4 separate regions of the Homo sapiens genome follow, and regions 2, 3 and 4 are each linked to region 1. Evidence: promoter capture Hi-C in 16 types of primary human blood cells and fetal thymus (Javierre and others, 2016). All regions are on one chromosome and are shown on one strand. The core of a region is centred on a gene start or on the middle of the fragment in contact, and the rest is flanking DNA. Distances in the headings are between cores, read along the strand shown.

Evidence for each region. Contacts are between HindIII fragments. The CHiCAGO score rates a contact against its expected background, and 5 or more counts as called.
Region 2: a fragment that was not itself captured here is called in contact with the fragment with the promoter of CYP17A1 in region 1 in 1 of 17 cell types (neutrophils); the score reaches 5.7 in neutrophils.
Region 3: a fragment that was not itself captured here is called in contact with the fragment with the promoter of CYP17A1 in region 1 in 2 of 17 cell types (erythroblasts and M2 macrophages); the score reaches 5.7 in erythroblasts.
Region 4: a fragment that was not itself captured here is called in contact with the fragment with the promoter of CYP17A1 in region 1 in 2 of 17 cell types (erythroblasts and M1 macrophages); the score reaches 6.0 in erythroblasts.

The regions. Positions count from the first base shown.
Region 1 is chr10:102,835,751-102,840,777 of GRCh38, forward strand. CYP17A1 (cytochrome P450 family 17 subfamily A member 1) reads right to left here and starts at 1,663. Exons shown (of 8, transcript NM_000102.4): 1 at 1,315-1,663. The coding sequence starts at 1,611. RefSeq lists a promoter at 1,623-1,902. The HindIII fragment of the contact is 11,808 bases long and covers 1-5,027 here.
Region 2 is chr10:103,682,569-103,687,595 of GRCh38, forward strand. All of the region lies in intron 6 of SH3PXD2A (SH3 and PX domains 2A), which reads right to left. Among named protein-coding and RNA genes, the nearest start is that of SH3PXD2A-AS1, 62 kb to the right of the region's middle. RefSeq lists enhancers at 1-193, 1,353-1,422, 4,053-4,102. The HindIII fragment of the contact is 1,892 bases long and covers 1,744-3,635 here.
Region 3 is chr10:103,408,119-103,413,145 of GRCh38, forward strand. PDCD11 (programmed cell death 11) reads left to right here. Exons shown (of 36, transcript NM_014976.2): 8 at 1,581-1,688; 9 at 4,998-5,027. Among named protein-coding and RNA genes, the nearest start is that of PDCD11, 14 kb to the left of the region's middle. The HindIII fragment of the contact is 3,483 bases long and covers 1,304-4,786 here.
Region 4 is chr10:103,379,564-103,384,590 of GRCh38, forward strand. TAF5 (TATA-box binding protein associated factor 5) reads left to right here. Exons shown (of 11, transcript NM_006951.5): 4 at 45-208; 5 at 321-456; 6 at 2,158-2,278; 7 at 3,675-3,804. Among named protein-coding and RNA genes, the nearest start is that of MIR1307, 12 kb to the right of the region's middle. The HindIII fragment of the contact is 176 bases long and covers 2,252-2,427 here.

The sequences.
Region 1 (5,027 bases), core at 413-2,912:
ACTATGCCTGTCCAGAGGGTAGGGAGCAGGTGAGCTTGTAGAGGCTGAGGACTGCACAGATCTCTGCTTTTCCCTGAGCCCTTAGCTGAGCTAAAGGCACAGCTCACCTCACTCAGGTTTACCCTTCCATTGCAAGCCTGCATACCCAGCCACAAGCCCACATTTGGAGAGTGCAGATGTTTTGTCTACCCAGTCTGGACTTGGGCCGAGCCGCCTCCTCCTAGAGGTGCCCCCCAAAGCAAAAGGGTCCAAAGCCTCCCTTTTCCATTTCCTGACCCTGAAGATCCACATGACTAGCCTTCTCCATCTTCTCTGCCCCCGGGAGGAAGCCAGCAGAGGTGGGAGCTAGGTAGTTGGTCAGCAGACCTGGCTGATTGGTCCAAGAAAAAATAAACCAACCCTTGGCTTGATCAAAGCTGAGAGGCTGGCAGGGCACAGTGGCTTACGCCTATAATCCTAGCACTTTGGGAGGCTAAGGTGGGAGGATCACGAGGTCAGGAGATCGAGACCATCCTGGCTAACATGGTGAAACACCATCTCTACTAAAAATACAAAAAATTAGCGGGCATGGTGGCATGCTCCTGTAGTCCCAGGTACTCAGGAGGCTGAGGCAGGAGAATCACTTGAACCCGGGAGGCAGAGGTTGCAGTGAGCTGAGATTGGCCACTGCACTCCAGGCTGGGCGACAGAGAGAGACTCTGTCTCAAAAAAAAAAAAAAAAAAAAAAAATGCTGAGAGGCTGGGGGCCCTGCTGAGTGGGAGGCTCATCAGCAACCCTGAAATGTCATTGTAGAAAACTGCCCCTGTGAGCCTGAGTAGCTGGAAATAGCACCAGGAAAGCAGCAATCCCAGCCTGCAATAGCTAGGCTAATTCTCCCCAGCAGCTTTCATGGAGGACAGTAGTCACTGCCCCCATTTTCCATGAAAAGTAACATGAATCCTGGCTGTATAAGGGGCACTTACTGTGCTGGGTGCTAGGCTAAGTGCTGTACATGCACCTTCTCAGTCCATTAGAGAAGTCTAGGCTCAGAGAGAGGAGTGGAGTGAGGATTCCTTGACCCCTCAGACCACTGTGGTCCTCCCATCCCACCTCCTGGGCAGCCTGGTAGAGGAGACATTCCTTTAATTCTTCCTGCCTAATTTAGAGGCTGGGTGGGGGTCTGAAGGTTCACTCCCTTCACATCATCCCACTAGTCTACTTTGGGAAGAATTACAGGTTGTTGGAGCTGGAAGCCCCATTCTAGGCATGGTCTGAAGACCTGAACAATCCCAGGGGGTGGTGAAGGGGGCAGGGAGGAGATGGGCACCACTTACCATTTGAGGCCGCCCAGAGAAGTCCTTGCCCTTCTTAATAAGCACCTCCTTGGCCAGCTGGTGGTGGCCGACAATCACTGTAGTCTTGGTGCCCATACGAACCGAATAGATGGGGCCATATTTTTTCTGCAGCTTGAAGAAGTTGTTATGCATATGGCCGTGTCTGGGGAGGAATGGCAGGCTGCCCACCAGGGGCAGGGACAGGAGGCTCTTGGGGTACTTGGCACCAGGGCACCTTCTCTTGGGCCAAAACAAATAAGCTAGGGTAAGCAGCAAGAGAGCCACGAGCTCCCACATGGTGGCTGGGTGCCGGCAGGCAAGATAGACAGCAGTGGAGTAGAAGAGCTGTGGCAACTCTAGGGCACAAGGAGGCCTTTTAAAGGGCTACCCTGATCTTCACCTTGACTTTGTGTTATCTCTTGCCTTGTGGAAAGATTCTCCTGGAGCCCAGCCAGGCCTGAGCTCATATCCAGAAGGGAGAGAGGCGGTGGGAGTGAAGGCCTCCTCAAGGGCTGGCTCAACTCCAGGGCAAACCTCCGGAGGAGGAGCTAGGTAAGGGAGGTCAGTTGATCACCCTCTGAGGAGCTCCCCATGCTTGAATGACTCCAGAGTGCGAATGGTATCTGGGCTCAGGAGTCAAGGCTTGGAACTTTCCATGTTGCAAAATCAAAATCACTGGACAGATGACAGATTCAGGAGGGTCACAAGTAGCAGGGACTGTTAAAGGTCTTTTATGCTTCTTTTTTTTTTTTTCAGAGTCTTGCTCCATCACCAGGCTGGTGTGCAGTGGTGTGACTGTCCATGCAGCCCTGGCCCTCCAGCCCATGTGGTTTTGGCAGCGATAAGGGCTGTGGGTTAATGGTCCCCAAAATAAAAATGTACATGTGTATGGGAACGAAAGGGGTGCTAAGCTGTGGGGAGCGGTGGAAGGGAAGGGAGAGATAGGTCAGTACTAGGAATGCCAGAGGTGGGAGGCCGTTTCATAACATTTCTTGTTGATCAAAATGCCATCAACACCTTCTTTGCTCATCAGCAGGACTAGCGTACTGGGGGAACCCACCCCCAATATTTCAACGTAGGTTCTTTCTATAAGTGTCAGCCGGCTGAGAAATAAAGAGAGACAGTATAAAGAGAGGAATTTTACAGCTGGGCCGCCGGGGGTGGCATCACATATCGGTAGGACTGTGATACCCACCTGAGCCTCAAACCAGCAAGTTTTTATTAAGGGTTTCAAAAAGGGGAGGGGGTGTAAGAACAGGGAGTAGGTACAAAGATCACATGCTTCAAAGGGCGAAAAGCAGAACTACTAATAAGTGTCTAACAAAGATCACATGCTTCTGAGGGAAAGGACAAAGGGCAAAAGCAGAACTACCGATAAGGGTCCAACAAAGATCACAAGGCAAAGGGCAAAAGCAGAACCACTGATAAGGGTCCAACAAAGATCACAAGGCAAAGGGCAAAAGCAGAACTACAGATGAGGGTCTATGTTCAGCGGTGCACATACTGTCTTGATAAACACCTTAAACAACAGCAAACAGGGTTCGACAGCAGAGAACCGGTCTGACCACAAATTTACCAGGGCGGAGTTTTTCCCCACCCTAGTAAGCCTGAGGGTACTGCAGGAGACCAGGGCGTATCTCAGTCCTTATCTCAACTGCACAAGATAGACATTCCCAGAGCGGCTGTTTATAGACCTCCCCCCAGGAATGCATTCCTTTCCCAGGGTATTAATAATAATACTCCTTGCTAGGAAAAGAATTTAGTGATATCTTCCCTACTTGCATGTCCATTTATAGCCTCTCTCAAGAAGGAAAATATGGCTCTTTCTGCCCGACCCTGCAGGCAGTCAGACCTTATGGTTGTTTTCCCTTGTTCCCTAAAAATTGCTCTTATTCTGTTCTTTTTCAAGGTGCACTAATTTCATATTGTTCAAACACATGTCTTACAATCAATTTGTACAGTTAACACAATTATCACAGTGGTCCTGAAGTGACAAACATCCTCAGCTTACAAAGATAACAGGATTAAGAGATTAAAGTAAAGACAGGCATAAGAAATTATAAAAGTATTATTTGGGAACTGATAAATGTCCATATTAAAATGAAATCTTCACAATTTATGTTCCTCTGCCATGGCTCCAGCCAGTCCCTCCATTCAGGGTCCCTGACTTCCCGCAACATCTCTCCCTTTCTTTTTATATAAATGTGCCGTGGCGATGAAGGCTTGCTCGTTCTCTCGGTTTTGATGCAGGATTCTTTGACTGGTCTGGCACACTAAAAACAAGCCGATTAAACAGAGAAACATGATTCCAAAATTTCCTACAGTGGAGCCCCCAGTAGACTTAATCCAAGTTGTGGAGTTTAGTCCAGAAAGACTTTCTGCCACCTGATCTAACGCCTCAGCTCCAGGCACAATGGATAAATGAGCTTGAGAGGCTTCAAAAATTTGTTTCTTTAATTTAGTTATGTCCAAGGATAAATTATCTTCCCTACCCAGAAGGTGTCCTTTGACCATTTCCCATGATCAGTCTCGTTGTAGGAATATGGTGTGCTATAGAAATCAGAAGTGTTGCAATCGAACTGCATTTGCATGTGATGTTCGAGACTCATTAGCTGGTCCCCAAGCCAAATAACAGACTGTCTTAAATCATTAGCTAATTTTTGATCAATGCCTTGTTGAGGATTCCACATTTGGGTGGAATTGCCTTACCAATCATTAACAAAATTAGCCATTTGAATAGATTGGTGTAATGCCACTCCGGCAGTGGTGGCCAGTGCAGTGACTGTAATTAGGCCCATGATCACAGTGATTAAAGTGAAAACAAATCTCTTGATCTTTTGAGAATTCGTTGTAACACTTCATTAATTAAATGTACTGAGGGGGAAGATTCCCAAGTTCTGGGTAAAGTTACTGGTATCCAGATTCCTTCTCAAGCTCGAACCAACATTACACTTTTCCTGAGTCAAAACGGGAGTTAACACAAGTGGATAAATGACAATTAATGCATTGGACGGTTTGATTGTTCATCCAAATTTTGATATTTCCCACTAACAGCATGTAAGGAGGCTTAACACAACTCTGTATAATAGTCAGGCTGGAGGTAAACAAAGCAGAATGTTTGAATCTACGTTGATACCGAGGGGGAGGAGTGGCGGTGGCAACGCCCAATGTTTGATGCCGTAAAGAAGCAATCCGAGGTGCCCGGGGATTCTGAAGAGGTAGGGGGACATACCTGGGTCCAGAAGAATTATCATAATGCCAATCAGAGTCCCATAAAGGAGGACTGGCATCAAAAAGAGGAAAATGGTCCAAAGGGGATTTATCATGGGTTTCAGAATCACGGATGTGAGGGGTGGTAGTGGGGACAACAGAAAGAAAAGTTTCCCCTTCCCATACTCGCAGTCTGGACATGGCAATAGCCAATTTCCAAAGTTCTGGGTGTTCTGGGCTCAGAATGGGGGATATCATAAGAGGCCTCGGGTGGCAGGGGGTAATGCTCTTATCTTCCCATTTTAAGGGACAGAATGAGCTGAACCTCCTATGCAAAGTAGGATGATGATCCTCGTCCTCCCAATAAGAAATAAAACAAGTAGCCTCCAGGCATTCCCTTCCAGCAGAAGAGCAACTGCTTTTCAAATAGCCCTTTGGTGCCCAGTCTCTTACTAAACCATATGAGTCATTTTTTAATAGTACTGCATGTGAATTAACACAAT
Region 2 (5,027 bases), core at 1,440-3,939, 850 kb after region 1:
AACATGGTGAAATCCCATCTCTACTAAAAATACAAAAAATTAGCCAGGCATGGTGGCATGCATCTGTAATCCCAGCTATTCAGGAGGCGGAGGCAGGAGAATTGCTTGAACCTGGGAGGCAGAGGTTGCAGTGAGCCGAGATCGTGCCATTGCACTCCGGCCTGGGCAACAGAGCCAGATTCCGTCTCAAAAAAAAAAAAAACAAAACAAACCACGAGCCTGGGTAAGATGTGCCAGAAGCTGACGCCTTCAAAAGACACGCTCACTTTTGAAATGGGCCATTGGAGGGTGGCAGGAAGATCTTTGCCACATTCTCTAAGTAGCCTGGGCCTTTCTCACTGAGGATGGGTAGCTCAGGAGGACAAGAACGCCTCGGAAATTGCTTTAAAAGGTCTTGCTTATGATACACTCTCCATGACTTCCTTTCCAGACTCATCTCCTGCTCTACCCTCGCTCCTGCCGGGATGATGGGCCCCTCTCCTTCCCTCAGACTTTTCAAGCTCATGCCAGGCCAGGTGTGGTGGCTCACGTCTGTAATCCCAACACTTTAGGAGGCTGAGGCAGGAGGATCACTTGAGGCCTGGAATTCAACACCAGCCTGGGCAACAAAGCGAGACCCTGTTTCTACCAAATAAATAAACAAATCAGTAATAAAAAATAAAGGCTAGAAATGGTGGCTCACACCTGTAATCCTAGCATTCTGGGAGGCTGAGGCGGGTGGACTGCCTGAGCTCAGGAGTTCAAGACGACCCTGGGCAACACAGAGAAACCCCATCTCTACTAAAATACAAAAAAATTAGCCAGGCATGGTGGCGGGTGCCTGTAGTCCCAGCTACTTGGGAGGCTGAGGCACGAGAGCTGAGAAGCGGAGGTTGCAGTAAATCGAGATTGGGCTACTGCACTCTAGCCTGGGTGACAGAGCAAGACTGTCTCCTACATAAATAAATAAGCCAGGCATGGTGGCACACCAGTGGTTCCACCTACTTGGGAGGATGAGGTGGGAAGATCGCTTGAGCCCAGGAATTTAAGGCCACAGTGAGCCCTGATCGCACCACTGCACTCCAGCCTGGGCCATTAAGTAAGACCCCATGTTAAAAATTAACACCAGAAAAACCCACAACAACAACAAAAAAGCAAAAACTCATTCCAGCTCCACATCCTTACTCATGCCTGGCTGTCCCTCCTGCAGGGTGCCCTACCCACACCCTTCAGCCCATCACAATCTCCTCTGTCCTTCAGGGCCATCTCCAGCCTCTCCCACAATGGCCAGCCACCCCTCCTTCCACCTTGCAGATCCCAAGCCATCCTGCCTAGTATTAATGAATCCCTGAAAAGGTCCCACCTTCTCAGTTGAGCTGTGCACTCCATGGGGCCAGGAGCCAACAAACTATTAAGAGAAGTGAAAGCCTCACAAAGCCTGCGCTCTGGAGGGAGGAGGCCTGCTGCCACTGCCTCGTCTCCCTCCATCTCCCTCTGCTGCTGGTTGGGCAGGGCAGGCCCAGGGAGGGCCAGAGAGCCCAGCTCTGCTAGTGCCCTGCTGAGGTATTTACCTTGCGGGGAAGGGAGGTACCAGAGACCTCACAGACCGGCTTCCTGTGCTTCAGGACAGCCCTCCTCACACTTCCACCTGACAGCCCTCCTCACACTTCCACCTGGTTCCAGGGCTTGGTGGGAGTGCTGACCAGCAGAAGACCAGGTTCTGCCCACCCCATACCCTGGGCAAGTGGCCATCCCTCTCTTAAAAGCTTCCTCTATAAAAGGAGGAGAATAGAGGAACTTTTTCAGGTAGACTAACCCTTTTTTTTTTTGAGACGGAATCTCACTCTGTCACCCAGGCTGGAGTGCAGTGGCACCATCTTGGCTCACTGCAAACTCCGCCCCCTGGGTTCAAGTGATTCTCCTGCCTCAGCCTCCCGAGTAGCTGGGATTACAGGTGCGGGCCACCACATCCGGCTAATTTTTCGTATTTTTAGTAGAGACGAGGTTTCATCATGTCGGTCTTGAACTCCTGATCTCAGGAGATCCAACTGCCTCGGTCTTCCAAAGTGCTAGGATTACAGGAGCGAGCCACCACGCCCGGCCATAGACTAACCCTTAATAGTGGCCAGAACTTATGGGCGGGTCTTGCTCTAAGCAAATTCACTTTATTAAAAACCAAACTCATAAAAAGGAAAATTAGGCTGTGTGCTGCGGTTCACACCTGTAATCCCAGCACTTTGGGAGGCCGAGGCAGGATAGTCACTTGATCCTAGGAGTTCAAGACCACCCTGGGCAACATAGCGAGACCCTGTCTCTACAAAAACTAACTGGACGTGGTGGTGCATGTCTGTAGTCCCAACTACTCAGAAGGCTGAGGTGAGAGGATTGCTTGAAGCCAGGAGGTCAAGTCTGCAGTGAGCTGTGGTTGTGCCACCACACTCCAGTCTGAACGACAGAGCCTGGGGCCCTGTCTCAAAAAAGCAAAAACAAAAACAAAAACAAAAAAAAGGCCAGTCATGGTGGTTCACACCTGTAATCCCAGCACTTTGGGAGGCCAAGGTGGGTGGATCACCTGGGGTCAGGAGTTCAAGACCAGCCTAGCCAACATGGTGAAATCCCATCTCTACTAAAAATACAAAAAATTAGCTGGGCATGGTGGCGGACGCCTATAATTCCATCTACTTGGGAGGCTGAGGCAGGAGAATCACTTGAACCCAGGAGGTGGAGGTTGCAGTGAGCTGAGATTGTGCCACTGCACTCCAGCCCAGGCAAACAGCAAAACTCTGTCTCAAAAAAAAAAAAAAAAAAAAAAAAAGAGAATCCTGTGTCTGGCTGACCTGGGGCAAGTTCCTTAACTTCCCTTTCCTGGTCTATAAAATGGGACAAGACCACCTACCCTGGTTGTTGCAGGGAGGCTCCTGGCAATGATGAGATAGTGGACACCCCACCTTCCCCCTGTCTGATTGAGGAGTCACTCCGGAGAAAGGGCAAAAGCTGAAACCAGCGCTCTCTCCTGTTTGAGACGAACCCCTCCGGTGCTGCCTCCTATTCATAGTAAAAGCTGCTTCACCCTTAGTGCTTCCTCTAGGCCAGGCACGGTGCTGGAGTTATCACTTCAGGAACTTTCACTCAATCCTCAACCCCATGAAAAAAACCTGATTATCCCTATTTTACAGGTGAAGAAATGAGCCATAGAGAAGGACTTGCCCAAGATCACACAGCAGGCAGAGCCGGGACATGAAACTAAGCATTCTGGCTCCAGAGTCCACGTTTTTAACTCAACGGAATACTCAGCAATGGCTGAGTCTACGCCCTGTCGTCCCCTCCTGGGTCTCACAGAATGGAAATAAATGTCTCAACTCAAAGACCAACTTCTCCCCTTCTTTCTTAATCTATCAATAATTAAAACGGCAATAACAAATGGCAGAGCTGGGGTTCAAACCCTGTCTTCCTGTTGCCAAAACCTAAACTGTCAACCCCAGGCAACACTGCTTCTCTGCAGTGAAACTACATTAATGCTGATCTCATGAACTCAGCTAATAATACAGTTTTATGATCACTGAGATAGAAGTGGGGCTGAGCTCACCACTTTTCCAAGGAGAAGAATAAAGTAAACAGGATTTCATGAGGAACATCAACACTTGCCTAAGAGAACAAGCTTGTAACAACACTCTTGAGCAACCTCATCTGCATGTAAACGAGCTGGAGCTTCCACAGGACTCCTGGGTTGGATGAACCCTCAGGCTCTCCTGACAACAGCCCCAGGGCCCTGACAATCCCGAGGCTCCGTGGCCACCTGTGCCCCCTAGTGGCGCATCTCAGAACTTCCCGGCTAGGTGCCCTGGCGAAATGCAGCTTTTTAGAGAACTGGGTGAGAGGCATGAGATCTTTGCAGGTCTCAAGAGAACCCCTTGCTCTGGGGAGTCTGCTCCAGCCCCACTGGGGCTCCTGGAGCAGTGCCCACCTTGGGGAAGCAACAACAGCTAACAACAACAGGCCCTTCCTACTGCCAGGCACAGCACAAAACCCCTCAAAGGGCATCACCTCCTTGAACCCTGTGCACTTTGGGGCAAGCCAGGTCGCTGCTACTATAACAACCCCATTTGACAGGTATGATGGTCAGGTGGTACACATCAACCTGGCTAAGCTACTGTCCCCAGTTATGCAATCACACACTAATTTAGGTGTTGCTGGGGAATTTTTTTTTTTTTTTTTTTTGAGACAGAGCCTCGCTCTGTTGCCCAAGCTGGAGTGCAATGGCATGATCTCGGCTCACTGCAACCTCCACCTCCTGGGTTCAAGATTCTCCCTGCCTCAGCCTCCTCAGTAGCTGGGATTACAAGCACCCGCCACCACGTCCAGCTAATTTTTTGTATTTTTAGTAGAGACGGGGTTTTGCCATGTTGGCCAGGCTGGTCTCAAACTCCTGACCTCAGGTGATCCACCTGCCTCGGTCTCCCAAAGTGCTGGGATTACAGGCATGAGCCACTGCGCCTGGTTGGGAATGTATTTTTATAGTTATTAAAGACCATGACCGGATGACTTTAAGTAAGGGAAATTATCTAAAACACTCTGGGTGGGCCTGAGTCAGTAGCTGAAAGGCCTTCAGCAGAGTGAAGGTTTCCCTGAAGACATTTCATCTGCGGACAGCAGCTCCAGCCTGGGCCTGGGGGTCCAGCCTGCCCCCTTTCATGACCTGCCATAGGATTTCAGACTTACCTAGCCAGCCCCCACAATTGTGTAAGCTAGTTCCTTACACTACATCGCTTAATATATACCTCCCACTCGTTCTGTTCCTTTAGTTGAACCCTGGCTGATACAACAGAACAGGTGAGATAATCTGTTCTCAGAGGCGAAGGGATTTGCCCAAGTCACATGACTGGCAAGTTGTCGGCCTAAGAGTGGGACCCCAGGCAACCTGATGCAGTTGTTTCCCAGCTCCCACACAAACTCTCCCTTGAGGCCCACATCCAATCATCAGAGTCTGTCCAACACCCGCAGTGCCTTGCCCCCTCCACTGCTGCCAGAGCCCACATCCTATCTCACCT
Region 3 (5,027 bases), core at 1,795-4,294, 570 kb after region 1:
TCAACTTATTTTCCACTTATTACAATTCTGCATGTTTTCAAACCCTTTAAGTAAACTACTAGTTTCTTTTTCCTCCCACCTAGAACCCTTTTTAATGTCCTTGTGCTCTAGGATGGACTAGTTGCTCTGTAGGGCTCCTGCATAGCCGGTATCCTAGGACTTCCCTTCTGCTGTCTCCTCTGTCTGTATTGGAGCCTTCTTTGGTCCCATGTATTCTTCTTTTTGGGTTTACTCCCTCGTTTTAGTGTGGTACATTATCCAGAAGCATCCTGGGAGAGCCTCTCAACTTTAACTTCCAATTCTCTAGGAAGTTTTTGTTTAGATTGCCATATGATGAGTGAGGTACTAAAAAACTGTGAGCAAGTCTATGTGCCTGTGTGGGATTGTTGACTGTTTTTTTAATTTTTAAAATTTTTATAATTATTTATTTATTTATTTTTGAGACAGAGTCTTGCTCTGTCACCTAGGCTGGAGTGCAGTGGCATGATCTCGGCTCATTGCAGCCTCCACCATCCAGGTTCAAGTGATTCTCCTGCGTTAGCCTCCAGAGTAGCTGGGACTACAGGCACCCACCACCACACCTGGCTAATTTTTGTATTTTTGTAGAGACAGGGTTTCACTGTGTTGGCCAGGCTGGTCTCAAACTCCTGAGCTCAGGTGGTCCACCTGCCTCAGCCTCCCAGAGTGCTAGGATTATAGGCATGAGCCACTGCGCCCACCTTCTTGTTGACCGTTTAACTTTCCTGTCAGGAACAGGACTAGCAGATTTAATTTGGGCAACCTCCTAATGTGATTGTTATAGGTCTTCTCTGGCATGTTAGATTTCTCTAGAAAGGATCTGGCAATCTCCACCCACGAGGGTCTAAGCCTGGCTGCCCGAGAATGAGTACGAGAAAGGGGCTGGATATTTACATGATATTTAGAATTTAATTGACATAAGAATATTTACATGATATTTAGAATTTAATTGACATTTTCAGAATTTGCACTTTTCCTGTTTTTTGATTCTGGTAACAGTTTTCCCAGAGAATAGGTTTAGTATTTTCCGGGAAGGTAAGAGAGAGGTCTTAGTTCTCTGATTTCATTCATCTCCCTCACCACTATCTTTTGAGGGGATTGTTACTTTTCGCTTTTTGGTGACTCCATAAGGGTGACTTGGCTTGCTTGTGGTCAGTATCTCCCTTTTGCAAGCCCTTTTTTTTTTAACCTTTTTTTTTTACCTTCCTATACTGGGAAAATATCTAAGTTAGTAACAATCTATTCCAGTTGTCAGGCTGGCAGTTCCCCAAGGATACATATACAAAGCTTCTTCCATTCCATGGAGGACTCCCAGAGAGTGGGAGGATTGATGTCCTCTCTTAGCTGGAAGGGAGGTGAGCCTACTAAGGAAAGAAACAGCCAGTGCAGGAATTGTTCTGCCAGTTATTTGTATAGGAAGAAAAGATTGTTAAGAGTTACCTGGGAGAGGAGAGATACACAGTTAGGGATACTATGGCATTGAGTGTTTACTGTGAGCAATGTCTCACATTCCTGGTTCTTTCAAAGAACTTTTTTTTATAACTTGTTCTGTTTATTTCTAGGTGACTCCATTTGGCCTTACGCTAAACTTCCTCACATTCTTCACGGGCGTGGTTGACTTTATGCACCTGGATCCCAAGAAAGCTGGAACATATTTCTCAAATCAGGCAGTAAGAAATGTTGAGCCTATATTTTCTTGATTCCAGTTGTGGTCCATTTGCTGTCCAGTATCACAGCTAGCTACAGGGAGGTCCTAGGACTGCATGCATACAGGTGTGCAGAGAGGAGATGAGAGGAATAATGAAAAGTGTTATGGAGGCCAGATGCAGTGGCTCATGCTTGTAATCCCAACACTTTAGGAGGTGAGGTGGGCGGATCACTTAAGGTCAGGAGTTCAAGACTAGCCTGGCCAACATGGTGAAACCCCGTCTCTACTAAAAATACAAAAATTAGCCAGGCGTGGTGGCGCATGCCTGTAGTCCCAGCTACTCAGGAAGGTGAGGCAGGAGAATCGCTTGAACCCGGGAGGCCGAGGTTGCAGTGAGCTGAGATCGTGCCACTGCACTCCAGCCTAGACAACAGAGCGAGACTCCATCTCAAAAAAAAAAAAAAAAGTGTTATGGAAGGAAAGTAAGAAACTCTCAGTGGCTGAACTGAAATTAGAGAAGGAGCAGGTGGAGAAGAAGGCAACTTTCAGTTTTTACTTCATAGTCTTCCATATAGTTTGATTTTTTTTTCCTTTGGTGGTAGTAGTATTTTTGTTTTTATAATTTAAAGTAGTTTAGAAGAATATTTAACATAGGAGAATAAGATACGTTTAAACAGCAAAAGGTGATTTTAAAAGTTGTATAGTATAGATCCAACTTTGAAAAAAATTTTAAAAAGTACCTCTGGTTAAAATACTGGAATATTAGGCAATCAGGTGTTAATAGTGATGAATTCTGGGTGATTTTTCTTTTCTTTTCTTTTTTTTTTTTTTCTTTTTTTTTTAAGACAGTGTCTTACTCTGTCACCCAGGCTGGAGTGCAGTGGCGCAAACACGGCTCACTGCAGCTTCAATCTCCTGGACTCAATTGATCTCCCACCTTAGTCCTCAGAGTAGCTAGGACCACAGATGTGTGCCACAATGCCTGGCTAGTTAAAAAAAATTTTTTTTAGGCCAGGTGTGGTGGCTCACGCCTATAATCCCAGCACTTTGGTAGGCCGAGGTGGGAGGATCACAAGGTCAGGAGTTCAAAACCAGCCTGGCCAGCATGGTGAAACCCCGTCTCTACTAAAAATAAAAAAAATTAGCCAGACCTGGTGGTGCGTGCCTGTAGTCCCAGCTACTCGGGAGACTGAGGCAGGAGAATCGCTTGAACCCAGGAGGCAGAGGTTGCAGTGAGCCGAGATTGTGCCACTGCACCCCAGCCTGAGCGACAGAGTGAGACTCTGTCTTTAAAAAAAAAAAAAAAAAAATTTTTACAGGCGAGGTCTCGCCATGTTGCCCAGACTGGTTTTGAACTCCGGGGCTCAAGGAGTCCCCCAACCTTGGCCTCCCAAAGTGCAGGGATTACAGGTGTGAGCCACAACCCTGGCTCCGCTCGTATTTAAATATTCAAATTTCCTACAATGAACATGGATATTTGGGAAGAAAATCCTAATATATGTTATTCAGAATTTTTTAGAATTCTAAAATGATTTCTTACTTTTCTTTTTTTAAATAGTAATGTGTGCTATAGATAATTTATTTATTTATTTATTTTTTGAGACAAGGTCACACACTATTGCCCAGAGTGGAGTACAATGGCACAACCACGGTTAATTGCAACCTCAACCTCCTGGGTTCAGGCGATCCTTCCACCTCAGCCTCCTGAGTAGCTGGGACTACGGATGCATGCCACCACGCCCAGCTAATTTTTGCTATGTTTTATAGAGATGGGGTCTCGCTGTGTTGCTCAGGCTGGTCTTAAACACCTGGGCTCAAATGATCCTCCTGCCTAGGCCTCCTAAAGTGCTGGGATTAGCCTCCTAAAGTGCTGGGATTATAGGCTTCAGCCACTACAACTAGCTGAGAATTTTTTTTTAAAGTGAAACTAGGATTTTCTACTACCTAGTGGTAATACTGTTAATATTTTCCTAAACCTCTTTTTAGTAATTTTTTTCACCCTATAAGCATTTGTGTATAGAGTTGAGACATTTTACATCTTTTAATGTTATGATGAGATCAGGCTTTTTCTGTTAGTTTCAGAGGAGCCTTGGATGCAGTGACACCAGTACATGGTTTCTGTTGTATTACAGATACATCAGCTCCTTGGTGTTGAGGGGACACCTAGTATATAGTTTTCTGGCCTTGAGTAAACTTTCTGGCTAATTTTTATTTATTTATTTTATTATTATTTTTTGAGACAGGGTCTCACTCTGTCACCCAGGCTGGAGTGCAGTGGCACGATCATCACTCACTGCAGCCTTGACCTCCTGGGCTCACTCAGGTGATTCTCCTGCCTCAGCCTCCCAAAGTGGTGCATGCCACCATGCTTGGCTAACTTTTTTTTTTTTTCTTGAGACTGAGTCTTACTTTGTCACCCAGGCTGGAGTGCAGTGGCACAGTGTTGGCTCACTGCAACCTCTGCCTCCCCATTTTAAGTGATTCTTGTGCCTCAGCCTCCTGAGTAGCTGGAATTACAGGTACGTACCACCATGCCCGGCTAATTTTTTTTTTTGAGACGGAGTCTTGCTCTGTCGCCCAGGCTGGAGTGCAGTGGCGTGATCTTGGCTCACTGCAGTCTCCGCCTCTTGGGTTCAAGCGATTCTCCTGCTTGAGCCTCCTGAGTAGCTGGGATTACAGGTGTGTGCCACCACACCCAGCTAATTTTTTGTATTTTTAGTAGAGACGGGGTTTCACTGTGTTAGCCAGGATGGCCTTGATCTCCTGACCTCGTGATCTGCCTGCTGCCTGCTTCGGCCTCCCAAAGAGCTGGGATTATAGGCATCAGCCACTGCTTCCAGCCTAACTTTTTTTTATTAAAACTAGAGATGAGGTTTCGCCATGTTGGCTGGGCTGTCTCAGACTCCTGATCTCAAGTGATCTGCCCACCTCAGACTCCCAAAGTGCTGGGATTACAGGCGTGAGCCATGATCCCCAGCCTATTTTTGTATTTTTTGTTGAGACAGGGTTTCACTATGTGCGCAGGCTGGTCTCTAACTCCTGAGCTCAAGTGATCCACCTGCCTTGGTGTCCCAAAGTGCTGGGATTACCAGTGTGAGCCACCCATACCTGGCTTGAGTAAGCTTTGATTTAGTCATACATAGTCCCTATGGGACATTTTGATTTTTCTGCATTCTGCTTGAGTGTGGAAGCCAGTTTGAGTACTTACATACTAAGGATGTGAGTACTCACATACCTGGTTAGCATGTGGAAAGGCTTGATGCCTGGAAGGTCTGCTCTAGGGTGCTCCTGTGTGCCTCCTCCTGCTCACCCTGCCCTTCCTTTTGTCTAGGTGAGGGCCTGCATCCTTTGCGTCCATCCT
Region 4 (5,027 bases), core at 1,090-3,589, 540 kb after region 1:
AATGAATAAATAATTTTAAAAATGTTGGCTCTTTTGACTTGTAGGTATTTTTTGGTTTATTAAAAGAACCAGAAATTGAGGTACCTTTGGATGACGAGGATGAAGAGGGAGAAAATGAAGAAGGAAAACCTAAAAAGAAGAAGCCTAAAAAAGATAGTATTGGATCCAAAAGCAAAAAACAAGATCCCAATGCTCCACCTCAGAACAGGTGAGGAAAAAACTTCAGGAACTTGTGTGTGGAGGTATAAGACAACATGTTATATAGAGTTCAAGTTTGTTAATAGTCAAAAGGTAATTTTGACTCTCTTTTTCTTTCACAGAATCCCTCTTCCTGAGTTGAAAGATTCAGATAAGTTGGATAAGATAATGAATATGAAAGAAACCACCAAACGAGTGCGCCTTGGGCCGGACTGCTTACCCTCCATTTGTTTCTATACATTTCTCAATGCTTACCAGGTTGGTAAAAAAATTGGGCGATTTCTGCCTGGAGAGTCATGTAGGATGATGATTTACCATTAAGAGAGAAACAAATGTATTAGCTAAAATGGAGTTTCGTTATTTAAACTCCTTTTTTTTTTTTTTCTGAGACAGAGTCTCGCTCTGTCGCCCAGCTGGAGTGCAGTGGCGCGATCTCAGCTCACTGCAATGTCCGCCTCCCAGGTTCATGCCATTCTTCTGCCTCAGCTTCCCCAGCAGCTGGGACTACAGGCGCATACCGCCATGCCCGGCTAATTTTTTGTATTTTTAGTAGAGATGGGGTTTCACCGTGTTAGCCAGGATGGTCTCGATCTCCTGACCTTGTGATCCGCCTGCCTCAGCCTCCCAAAGTGCTGGGATTACAGGCATGAGCCACCGCATGTGGCCCCTAAACTCTTATACAATTTAAAGACAGCATTCAGGAAGAGAGAATTGGATACTGCACAGAATAGATAGAAGTCAATGTTTAATGGCATTTGTTTCACCGATCAGAATTCTGCTAGCCTTTGAGGAGGAGCAAATTGTAGTTCATTTCTGTTGAACTTGGTTTAAGTACTTACGTAAACTTATTTATCAATTTTTTTTTTTTTTTGAGACAGAGTTTTGTGCTGTCACCTAGGGTGGAGTGCAGAGGTGAGATCTCAGCTCACTGCAACCTCTGCCTCCCGGGTTCAAACGATTCTTGTGCCTCAGCCTCGGCCTCCTGAATAGCTGGGATTACAGGCACCCTCCACCATGCCTGGCTAATTTTTGTATTTTTAGTAGAGACAGGATTTTGCCGTGTTGCCCAGGCTGGTCTTGAACTCCTGACCTCAAGTGATCTGGCCGCCTCAGCCTCCCAAAGTGCTGGGATTACAGGCGTGAGCCACCGTGCCCAGCCATATAAACCTTATTTTATTTTATTATTTTAATTTAATTTCATTTTTTGAGATGGAGTCTTGCTCTGACACCTAGGCTGGAGTGCGGTGGTGCAATTTTGGCTCACTGCAACCTCCGCCTCCCAGTTCAAGTGATTCTCCTGCCTCAGCCTCCTGAGTAGCTGGGATTATAGGCATGAGCCACCACGCCCAGCTAATTTTTGTATTTTCAGTAGAGAAGGGGTTTCACCAGGTTGACCAGGCTGGACTTGAATTCCTGAGCTCAGGCAATCCACCCGCCTCAGCCTCCTAAAGTGCTGTGATAACAGGCATGAACCCCCGCGCCCGGCCAAACTTAGTATTTTATTTTATTATTATTTTTTTTTTGAGATGGAGTCTCACTCTGTCGCCCAGGCTGGAGTGCAGTGGCACGATTTTGGCTCACTGCAACCTCTGCCTCCTGGGTTCAAGTGATTCTCTTGCGTCAGCCTCACAAGTAGATGGGATTACAGGTGCCCACCACCCTGCTTGGCTAATTTTGGTATTTTTAGTAGAGATGGGGTTTCACCATGTTGGCCAGGCTGGTCTTGAACTCCTAACCTCAGGTGATCCACCTGTCTCAGCCTCCCAAATTGTTGGGATTACAGGCATGAGCCAGTGCGCTTGGCCAATATTTTAAATCAAGAATTTTAAAAGTCTTTATATATTCCTTAAAATAGAGGATTGAGGAGATATTTAGTATAGTGTGAAAATGATTAACATTTGCTTCCTATCTCTAAATATCCTAAAATAGTATTGTTTAGTCTAACCCTTTTATTGGCAGGGTCTCACTGCAGTGGATGTCACTGATGATTCTAGTCTGATTGCTGGAGGTTTTGCAGATTCAACTGTCAGAGTGTGGTCGGTAACACCCAAAAAGCTTCGTAGTGTCAAACAAGCATCAGGTAACTGAGATGACCTTTTGGAATGTGAACTTGCCATTAGTCTATACCAATCTTGATTCCATGGAAAATACACAGGAGATTGTGTTCTTTACAGAAATTCACTTGATTTTACTTTAACTCAAGATTCTAACATTCCCAACAGTGAAAAAAGCTTTGGAGTGACTGGGGTGCTAGACTGGTTTAATTTCTTTAGGTCTCAGTTTTCTCATCTGTAGAATGAGTGAGTATTAAGCTAAAAAACTTAAAGTTAAAAATCTAACATTTTATGATTGCTTGTAAATCTTAAAAAATCTTTAAATAAGGGATGGTACTTCCTGTTTTAGTCATAAAAATGGCTAAAAAGAACAAATAAGGTCAGGATTTTATTTGAAAGTTTTTTACTTTTTGTTTTTTTGAGACAGAGTCTCGCCCTGTCACCCAGGCTAGAGTGCAATGGCGCAGTCTTGGCTCACTACAGCCTCTACCTCCCAGGTTCAAGGGATTTTCTTGTGTCAGCTCCCCAGCTCCCCAGTAGCTGGGATTACAGGTGCCCACCACCATGCCCAGGTAATTTTTGTATTTTTAGTAGAGATAGGGTTTCGCCATGTTGGCCAGGCTGGTCTCGAACTCCTGACCTCAAGTGATCCGCCTGTCTGGCCTCCCAAAGTGCTGGAATTATAGGTGGCTCACTGCAACCTCCACCTCCCTGGTTCAAGCGATTTTCCTGCCTCCACACCCGGCCTGAAATAAAGTTTTTTACTAACTATATTATTTAAATAAAACAATATATTTTAAATTATTTCAATATTTCCATAGGTTTTTTTTTTTTAATTTTAAATTTTTTTTAGATGGGGTCTCACTCTGTTGCCCAGGCTAGAATGCAGTGGTGTGATCACGGCTCACTGCAGCCTCTAATCCCTGGGCTGAAGTGATCCTCCCACTTCAGCCTCCTGAGTAGCTGAGACTACAGGTGTGTGCAACCACACTGGCTAATTTTTTATTTTTTGTAGAGACAGGGTTTCTCCATGTTGTCCAGGCTGGTCTCGAACTCCTCTGGGCTCAAGCAATCTGCCCGCCTTGGCCTACCAAAATTCTGAGACTACAGGTGTGAGCCACCATGCCTGGCCCATAGTTTTCATTTTGTGAAACACTGTGGCATAGTGGGCAAAACTGAGTTTCAGTTCTGGTTCCCACACTGAGTAGCTGTGTGCACTCTAGCAAATTATCTGTTCTGAACGTCATTTTCTTCTCTTACACGCTGAGATGATACTGCCTAATTTAGAGGGATTAGCAAAGTGCGGTTGGTATATAGGAGGAAATTTTCAAATGTTAATTCCTCTCCTGCACTGTGATATGATTACTTTAAAAGTTTTGATGAATGTACTTATAAAATATCAATATTTCTGGACCATTTTAGATCTTAGTCTTATAGACAAAGAATCAGATGATGTCTTAGAAAGAATCATGGATGAGAAAACAGCAAGTGAGTTGAAGATTTTGTATGGTCACAGTGGGCCTGTCTACGGAGCCAGCTTCAGTCCGGATAGGTAAAATACAAACAATAAAAATTAAATACTGCTATGTTATATTGAAATTATATAAAAGTTAACTACTGGAAACATTATGCAAATGCTGGGAAAATTCTGATAAAAATCTCATGGTTGTCTGACGTTCATCATCTTTTAGAATCTTGCCATTTGCTAATTCATCTTTGAATCCTGGTGTTTGTACATGGTAGCAATTTAATGTATACTCACTTTTTTTTTTTTTTTTTTGAGACAGAGTTTCGCTCTTGTTGCCCAGGTTGGAGTGCAATGGCGTGATCTTGGCTTACCGCAACCTCCGCCTCCTGGGTTCAAGCGATTCTCCTGGCTCAGCCTCCTGAGTAGCTGGGATTACAGGCATGCGCCACCACACCTGGCTAATTTTATTTTTTTATTAGAGATGGGGTTTCTCCATGTTGGTCAGGCTGGTCTTGAACTCTCAACCTCAGGTGATCTGCCCACCTCAGCCTCCCAAAGTGCTGGGATTACAGGCGTGAGCCACTGTGCCTGGCCTGTATACTCAAATTTATAGAATCAAAATGCACAGTTTCAGGGCTTACTGGTTTTAAAAATTAGCTTTAGTATTTCCCTTTTTTTTTTTTAATTATTTTTATTTGTTACCCAATGGTAAATAACCAACCAAAGCTTTAGTTTTATAGAACTCCATTAGGGGTTGAATTGCTTCATTGGGTCCCTGCATTGTGTCTTCTGGCTGCTTCATCAAATTTAAGACAAATTCCTGACATTAATGGCATATTAGCTAGTAATTGAGGATTAATCTTTCTATAATCAAAAGTACTAAGAGTAAATGAAAAAGGAAATTCAAAATTGGTTTGCTTCCCTTTAGGTGTATGATTACAATGTCATCCTATGTGTATAGGTATTTGCCTATTTTTCATGATCTCTAACACTGTAAAAATGGGTGGAGGGTGTTTTGTATTCATAATACCATCAGTATATTACTTGGATAGATAATAGCTTTCAGGCCGGGCACAGTGGCTCACGCCTATAATCCCAGCACTTTGGGAGTCCAAGACAGGCGCATCACCTGAGATCAGGAGTTTGAGACCAGCCTGGCCAACATGGGAAATCCTGTCTCCACTAAAAAGTACAAAAATTAGCAGGGTGTGGTGGCGCCCACCTGTAATCCTGGCTACTTGGGAGGCCGAGGCAGGAAAGTCACTTGAACATGGGAGGCAGAGGTTGCAATGAGCCGAGATTGCACC